2 separate regions of the Homo sapiens genome follow, and region 2 is linked to region 1. The links are contacts of gene promoters, found by promoter capture Hi-C in blood cells and fetal thymus (Javierre and others, 2016). All regions are on one chromosome and are shown on one strand. The core of a region is centred on a gene start or on the middle of the fragment in contact, and the rest is flanking DNA. Distances in the headings are between cores, read along the strand shown. Region 1 holds the start of TPR (translocated promoter region, nuclear basket protein). Region 2 holds the start of ACBD6 (acyl-CoA binding domain containing 6).

Evidence for each region. Contacts are between HindIII fragments. The CHiCAGO score rates a contact against its expected background, and 5 or more counts as called.
Region 2: the fragment with the promoter of ACBD6 here is called in contact with the fragment with the promoter of TPR in region 1 in 2 of 17 cell types (total CD4 T cells and total CD8 T cells); the score reaches 11.7 in total CD4 T cells.

What each region holds. Positions count from the first base shown.
Region 1 is chr1:186,372,361-186,376,602 of GRCh38, reverse strand. It overlaps TPR (translocated promoter region, nuclear basket protein), which reads left to right and starts at 1,350. Exons shown (of 51, transcript NM_003292.3): 1 at 1,350-1,725; 2 at 3,140-3,244. The coding sequence starts at 1,575. ODR4 (odr-4 GPCR localization factor homolog) reads right to left here and starts at 765. Exons shown (of 14, transcript NM_017847.6): 1 at 629-765. RefSeq lists enhancers at 736-925, 1,096-1,145, 1,306-1,605 and a silencer at 2,166-2,215. The HindIII fragment of the contact is 6,872 bases long and covers 1-3,220 here.
Region 2 is chr1:180,500,082-180,503,963 of GRCh38, reverse strand. It overlaps ACBD6 (acyl-CoA binding domain containing 6), which reads left to right and starts at 1,387. Exons shown (of 8, transcript NM_032360.4): 1 at 1,387-1,919. The coding sequence starts at 1,698. RefSeq lists a silencer at 1,320-1,419 and enhancers at 1,630-1,819, 1,341-1,841, 1,949-2,464, 2,465-2,980. The HindIII fragment of the contact is 1,534 bases long and covers 490-2,023 here.

The sequences.
Region 1 (4,242 bases), core at 101-2,600:
TATTTCTTAGACGGCTTCACAACATGATTCAAAAGTAAGAACTAGAGAAAAAGAATAAATTTCATATAAGAACTAAATCACCAATTCACAGAAGGCCCACGACTGTGGGAACTGCAGAGAGACGACACTGGGAATGCATTATTTACAATGAATAATTTAACAAATTCTTTCATAAGAGTAAACACGAAACAATCTACGGATTGAGCTTTAAAACTACAGAATTATGATCTGGAACCATACAAGTTCTGTTACTGTAGAAATTAACAATGTGTTTAAAAACTTCAGTTACAACAGTTTTCAATTTTAAAAACAATATAATGTTAGGTAACCGTTTCTGCAACGAAAAATTTAAAACATAGGCTACACTCAAAGTGCTACCGGTTTCTTTTAATTCTCCTCCTGAAGAATTAACCCGGGTCCTTAAATTCCCGGGTACTGAATCACTCAGTGCCACCTCCCCACCACCAAAAACCATTTAGGTACGCCGTTTCACACAAGGTAAGTTCGTCAGAAGTGTGTGCCGGAGTGACTGTCCATATGGTTCCAACACTGTCCCTTCCTTTTTCTCTTGAAAAGAGAGCACACACACACACACACACACACACACACTACACTTAGGCTGACTTACCTGTTTTCAGAATGTGCACTCGTGGCAGACAATTACCTCGGACGGTCTCTCCGCCGGAGATGGGGGTTTCGGGCCCAAGTACCAGCCTCTAGGGGCCAGATTCCCTCCGGTCTCAATTCACTGCCACTGAATTCATCAGAAAGCGACCTACTTCCCACACCTCACTTCCCACTCCAAAGCCAGGGACTTGGGAGTCAGGTGGCGCAGATTGATGACGTAAAAGCCCCCCCTCCCTTCCCCGCAGAGCCTCAGCCAAAGCGACTGCGGTCGCCACCCCGCCCCCTTCTGGGCGCCATAGAGAGCGTGGCGGTATCCCGGAGCCTGCCGTCCGGCCCTACCGGGACCGATGCCCTCTAGTGGCTCAGTGTCCAGAAGCCGCCAACGAGGACGATCCATGGCATCCCGGGGCTTTGACGGTAAGGTCACCAGCTCTTCAGGGAGGGCCAAGGGGTGACGAGTACGTATGTGGCGCCACCGTGCGGACAGCGGTTACGGGGCCGAGATAGGAGAGCCAGGGGAGCGGGGAGAAAAACGGAAGCTGAGAGGGCGGTGCAGCATTGGGCTCCCGGAAAAGAATGAGAAAAACACTACATTTCCCAGAGCCCTACAAGGCCTGAAGTGGGTGGAGCTGGAAGCCGGAAAATTGGGTGCGCAAGAGGATCAGGGATAGCCTCTGAGCTCGGGTTCCCAGGGTTCGTAGCTTCCAACGGCTGCGCGCGCACTTCGGTCGCGGGCGGTGAGGTGCTGTTGCTGAAACGCTGCCGCTGAGGGTGGACTCGATTTCCCAGGGTCCCGCCGCGGGAGTCTCCGGCGGGCGGGCGCGCGCGAGCCACCGAGCGAGGTGATAGAGGCGGCGGCCCAGGCGTCTGGGTCCTGCTGGTCTTCGCCTTTCTTCTCCGCTTCTACCCCGTCGGCCGCTGCCACTGGGGTCCCTGGCCCCACCGACATGGCGGCGGTGTTGCAGCAAGTCCTGGAGCGCACGGAGCTGAACAAGCTGCCCAAGTCTGTCCAGAACAAACTTGAAAAGTTCCTTGCTGATCAGCAATCCGAGATCGATGGCCTGAAGGGGCGGCATGAGAAATTTAAGGTGGAGAGCGGTAAGTGAGATGCTCTTTCCGTCCTTGGTTTTGGGCTCGACTCCCGCCCTTTGGGTCTGGTCTTCCCCCATCAAGTTGGCACTGGGTACCGCTCTGTTAACCTCACTTCCTGGGCTCTGTGGATATCCTGAGCCTTCGCTTTCCTGCTCCTTACAGTTTGATAAGAAGCCTTTGAAAAAAAAATCTGAATCTAAGTTCAGTAGCATTTTCTTTGTAGTTAGGGTAGGCTCATACAGGGACGCTTATTTTCCTTCGTCCGGCAGACGGGAAACAGACTTGATAGAGTCTGCGAACCCATCTCTCTAAGCCTAGAGTACCTTATATGTTTTGTTGCACTTCAACTGATAGTGGCTCCGCCCTATTTTCTAGGCACCTGCATTCTAGGCCTTTGCCAAATTGACCACTCTGTGCACTTGTTCTTAGTGTGTGCGTCGTCCCGTGGCTCCAGAACGAATCAGATGTTTACAAAAATGAATATTAGGTGCATAAGAGCGCTGGAAACACAGTGAATGTGCAGTACATAAATTTAATATATCTTGATTTCTCTTAAAAAGTTGGAGTTTGATAGAAAACATTAAAATTTTCTTGTAATTACCTAAAGTAGGCCTTTAAGTAAGAAAGTTACTGACAATAATGGCTTGAACATCCTTGAAAAAAATATGAAGAATATAGTCATTACCATTAGTAAAATACAAACTTCCCGTTAATGTGTTTTGGTTTACCATTTGTTTGGGGAGGTTCATACTGTTCTTGCTAAGTTGACTGGAAATTCTGAACAAGTTTTTACTTCAAAAAAAGTGTAACTGTCAAGCAGAATTGACCTTGAAAATTAGTTCTCTGATCCCAGAGCTGAGTATAGTACATTGCATTCTATTTATTAATTTGCACCATAAATATTGAATGTCTTACATGTTCCTGATACTATGCTGAACATGATATTCAATCCCTTCCCTTGGAAAGTTTACACATTTACTTTTACATATATTTAGTAGTTTTATGCTTTCAGGTAATATCTTGACTACTATAAAAGAAGTCTTTTAAAACAAAGGAGTTTTTTTTTGTCTAAACAATTTTTTCTCGTGTAATAAATACTTTATTTATTAAGCAGTTTACTGATGTCTGGAGAAAATACTAAGATAAATGAGGTTACCTGCCTTGAAGACATTGATTTGTAAAGCCCCTTTTAGGCCTTATTTTTATTTTTTATTTTTTGTCATGTAAGTCGTTTGGAAATGCTTTAAGTCCTTTTCAGTGCTCAGTCTATTTATCTTTACTCAGATTCTCTTATGTGGAGCACAATTCTAATACTGTATCTTAAGTTTTAAAATCAAGGTTATTAGAAATAAATAACAGTATTCACAATGTATGTACATGTGTTTGATTTTGTTTTTTGTTTTTTGCTTGTCTGCTGTAGAACAACAGTATTTTGAAATAGAAAAGAGGTTGTCCCACAGTCAGGAGAGACTTGTGAATGAAACCCGAGAGTGTCAAAGCTTGCGGCTTGAGCTAGAGAAACTCAGTAAGTATTTAATTCATCTTTGTAAGTATTCTCGGAGTATCGAAATCTTCAGAGACTCCTTTATATACTTTGGAAACATTTGCTTACTAAACATGAAAATATTGATTAAGCATCATTGGTTTTTATTATGGTGATATTTTGATTTTTCACTTAGTGGTAAAGATTTTGTGAGAACACAGAATTTAATGGTCAGGAGGTCTGGATTCTTATTCTGATTTTGCTATTAAAATTGCTTTTGCCACATGTAAATCTTAACAGTATCTGATTATTGTTTATAAAATGGTTAGACCCACATGTCTGTCTACCTAGACAGCTTTGTAAATCAAATGAGATAAGAGTTCTTGAAATCTTTTTAAAAAGGTGAAAGCATTATGCAACTAAAGAAGTAGAGAGTGGCTTGTTTTTATGTTGAAGAATCGAAGCCTATTGATTTCATTATATTTATGTTTTAACTCCATTTTTTAATAATTTTTATAAATATCTATGAATCTCAGGATATTTCCCCTTTAAGGCCTAATTCCTATAAAAGATTGATAGCTAATCTCTTTCTTACTTTTCTTACATCATTAAGTTTTAGAAAGTTCACAAGATGTTAAAGATCCTGACATTTCTTAGGAGGATGATATGTCTTGTGCTTTGCTTTTCCCATCCAAGTTCTGACCAGGCCCCACCCTGCTTAGCTTCCGAGATCAGACGAGATGGGGTGCCTTCAGGGTGGTCTGGCTGTAGACTGCTTCTGCTTTAAGAAAGCAAACATCAGAACATTAGGAAAGATCTCTATAAAGGTGTAATTAATTTTTTTTTTCCTTTTTTTTTGGAGACAGAGTCTCACTGTGTTGCCCAGGCTGGAATGCAGTGGTGCAATCTTGGCTCTCTGCAACCTCTGCCTCTTGGGTTCAAGCGATTCTTGCGCCTCAGCCTCCTGAGTAGCTGGAATTACAGGCATGTACCACCAGGCCCAGCTAATTTTTGTATTTTTAGTAGATACAGTGGTTCGC
Region 2 (3,882 bases), core at 138-2,637, 5.9 Mb after region 1:
ATATAATTCATTAAAATAGAAACTGTTAATATAATTCCTTTCGAAGACTAGAGGAGAAAAGCAGATAATCTCCAAAGATGCCAAAAAAGCCGTTGATAATATTCAATTCTCACTTTAATAAAAATTCTAGAAACAAAGATATAAAAGTCCATGTTATATCTCCTTCAGTCTACTTGTCGGGTTCATCATCCATTATTACCCCACATGAAAGCTAACTTCTTTTTCCTTGCTCCTCCATTTGCTAGCTGTGTAGCCTTTGACAAGTTACTTAACCACTCTGTGCTGATTTCCTATGTGTAGTAAAATAAGAGTACCTACCTTATGTTGTAATGATCAAGTCCTCAATACATTATTCTTAATCACTTTTTAATTGCAAGAATTTGGTCATTAAACATCCCTTTGACTGGATTGCGAGCACCTTGACAGCAGGGACTAACAGTGGAACTTTCTGGAGACTTAAGGAATGTCTGTTGAATCCTGATGCAAGCTTTCTCACCTTCCTGTGTTCTCTCATTGCTTCCTCATCCTGTCCAGCCGTCCGTCCACCCGTCGCAAGCCTAACCCCAGTCAATAACCACTGTTTACAACACTTTCTTTGTACCCTTCTTATAGTGCTTATTACATTGTTTTGAATACTAAATGAATATATAGTGCGTCGTTGTGTTTAACATTTAGGACATAACCACTCATAATGTTACAGTTAAAAAAATAGTTTTGTGCATTCCTCTAGGGCCGAACTGTGCCGTACTTCTGGTTTCACTGTACAGTGTCTACAAAGCACAGTGTCAAAGACAGAGCTCGGGATGAGAACTGGGCTAAGGCGCGCCCCGAACTCCCCAAACCCTATTATTCAGGGCCCGGAGAGGTGCGGGCTCCGAAGGTGTGGAGAGCGAAACACGCAGAGCAGTGATTCCACTCATCAGTCACACAGTAAGACGGGACAGCCCCATCTCGCAGTTTTTCATTATTCAACACAGAGCCCAACGCGCACGCAACAGATCCGCGCGCAGGGCTGTTTGGAGGCGCTTGGGGCGCACAATCTGGGGCAGGCGGAACCTTAGTCCTCAGCCTCGCGTTTCCCGCGACTCCGCTCTCACCGCTACACTACCACACAAACGGCCTCCTTCCCCCACCCCCGGGGGCCCATCCCGGTGGCGGGCTCCGGAGCTCGGGACTGCTAATTTCAGCGAAACGATTAAAAGACGCCCCTACAGCTGACGGCACTTTCTCTCCTCCGGCAGGGAAGGACGTCCAGCGTAGCGTCGCCCGCGCTTCCCCGCCGGCGCAGAGCAGGCCTCACAGAATCGCACGCCGCTGGCACGCACGCCGCCCCGCCCCCACGGCCCAGCGCCAGCCGCGCCCCGCGCTCGCACGCATCCCGGCCTCACTGCCCCTCGACTCCTGTTCCGTTGGAGGGGCCTGAGGCGAGCCTGAGCGCGCTGTTGGCCGGAGGGAAGCCGGAGGAGACCGGGTCGACTGGGCAGAGCGGCAGAGGGTCGAGGAGCCTGCTCTGCACGCCCAGGGAGTAGAAGTGGGCAGGGAGCAGGGTCACGTGAGGGAGCGCGCCGCGACTGAGCTTGGGTCCGACTGGAGCTCAGGCTCGCGACCCAGACTGGTGGGCCAGGCCTCCAAGCCGGCCTTACACCCAATCCAAGGAGGACAGACCGGACACAGAGGGACGGAGCGAGCAAGGAGACATGGCTTCATCATTCCTGCCCGCGGGGGCCATCACCGGCGACAGCGGTGGAGAGCTGAGCTCAGGGGACGACTCCGGGGAGGTGGAGTTCCCCCATAGCCCTGAGATCGAGGAGACCAGTTGCCTGGCCGAGCTGTTTGAGAAGGCTGCCGCGCACCTGCAAGGCCTGATTCAGGTGGCCAGCAGGGAGCAGCTCTTGTACCTGTATGCCAGGTACAAACAGGTAAAGTAGCAGGGAGAGGGTGGATGGGGGAGAAAGACACGGAGCCTTCTTCCTCAACAACTGATAGCAAGCATGTATGGTTAATAGCTAGGTGTAATGAAGCTTGTGTATGTGTATTTTGTTTTGTTTTTTTTTTTTTGACCATCTGCTGGGGATGAGCATCATCCTGAACGTGGAAAAGATGTTTGCTTTCTTAGGAGTGATGTTTATTTAGCTGGACACTGGACATTGTTTTTGTGTTTTTTTCTCTGACTTATTCAGTGATCTTGCATTTTACCAGCCCAAGAACCTTTACAAAATGAGGATAAAATAAGATATATCATTCATTTACTCTTTCCCAGAGGGCCACATGGAAGTAAATACGGTAAAGTTAATAAAACTATATAGAGATCCAAAAAGATAATAGGATTGTAATAATGTGATGCAGGGCTGGGCGTGGTTGCTCACGGCTGTAATCCCAGCACTTTGGGAGGCCGAGGCGGGAGGATCACCTGAGGTCGGGAGTTGGAGACCAGCCTGACCAACATGGAGAAACCCCGTCTCTACTAAGTTAGCCGAGCGTGGTGGCGCATGCCTGTAATCCCAGCTACTCGGGAGGCTGAGGAGGCGGAGGTTGCGGTGAGCGAAGATTGTGCGCCATTGCACTCCAGCCTGGGCAACAAGAGCGAAGAAACTCCACCTCAAATAATAATAATAATAATAATGTGATGCAATGCAAAATGCAGTATTACAACTTTTATTGTGATTTTTATAAAATCCTAAATATCTTTGATTTATGTTTTCGTTGAGTATGTCTTCCTTTCTGTTTGATACAATCTAAAAATTTTAGAGCTATGAACACCAGAGGAAATAATGCCCTTCTTTTACAGTAAAGGAAACTGAAGGCCATAGAGAGTAGGCACCTTTCCTAGGGTCATACAAATACATCAGTCAGAACTGGATTGTAGCTCCTGACTCAGTCTAAGGCTGTGAACTTTACCTGGAAATAGGGAGGTGTATAGACACGTTTAATTTATAATTCAGGGTGACATTGGTTGGTACCAGAAGGAAAATAATTGCTTTATCATAAGCAACATATATTTGTTCAGCAGCTTTTATGTGCAAGACACTTGGGTATAATGCCTACAGAGAATGCAGAGAAGCAAAAACATCATGACACTTTGCAGAGAAGCAAAAACATCATGACACTCACTTTTTTTTTTTTTTTTTTTTTTTACAGAGGGTCTGGGTTTCACCACATTTCCCAGGCTGGTCTTGAACTCCTGAGCTCAGACGATCCACCTGCCCAAAGTGCTGGGATTACAGGCATGAGCCACTGCACCTGGCTGACACTTTTTTTTTTTTTTTTTTGAGATGGAGTTTTGCTCCTGTTGCCCAGGCTGGAGTGCAGTGGCTGGATCTTAGCTCACTGCAACCTCTACCTCCCCGGTTCAAGCGATTGTCCTGTCCCAGCCTCCCGAGTAGCTGGGATTACAGGTGCCTGCCGCCATGCCCAACTAATTTCTTGTATTTTTAGAAGAGACGGGGTTTCATCATGTTCGCCAGGCTGGTCTTGAACTCCTGACCTTAGGTGATCTGCCTGCCTTGGCCTCCCAAAGTGCTGGGATTACAGGTGTGAGCCACCACGCCCCGCCAACATTTGCTTTAAGAGACTTAAAGTACTTGAGGAGTCTAGGTTTGAACATACCTGAAAAATTGCTGACAAGAGTTAAATAACAGTTCAGGAAAATTACAGCTCTTTGAAACACTAGAGGAAAGGAAATTCTGGATAATAGCCTATTTTGTTTTATTAAAAATGTGTAAACTTTTTTTCTTTTTGCCTCTTGACATAGTTACGTATTTTCCCCTGTATTTGTTAAAGGAAAAATAAGTTGGGGGAGAGGTCCTGCTGTGTTCTTTTTTTTTTTTTTTTAACTAAAAAAGTTTTTTTAGAGACAGGATCTTGTTTCGTTGCTCAGGCTGG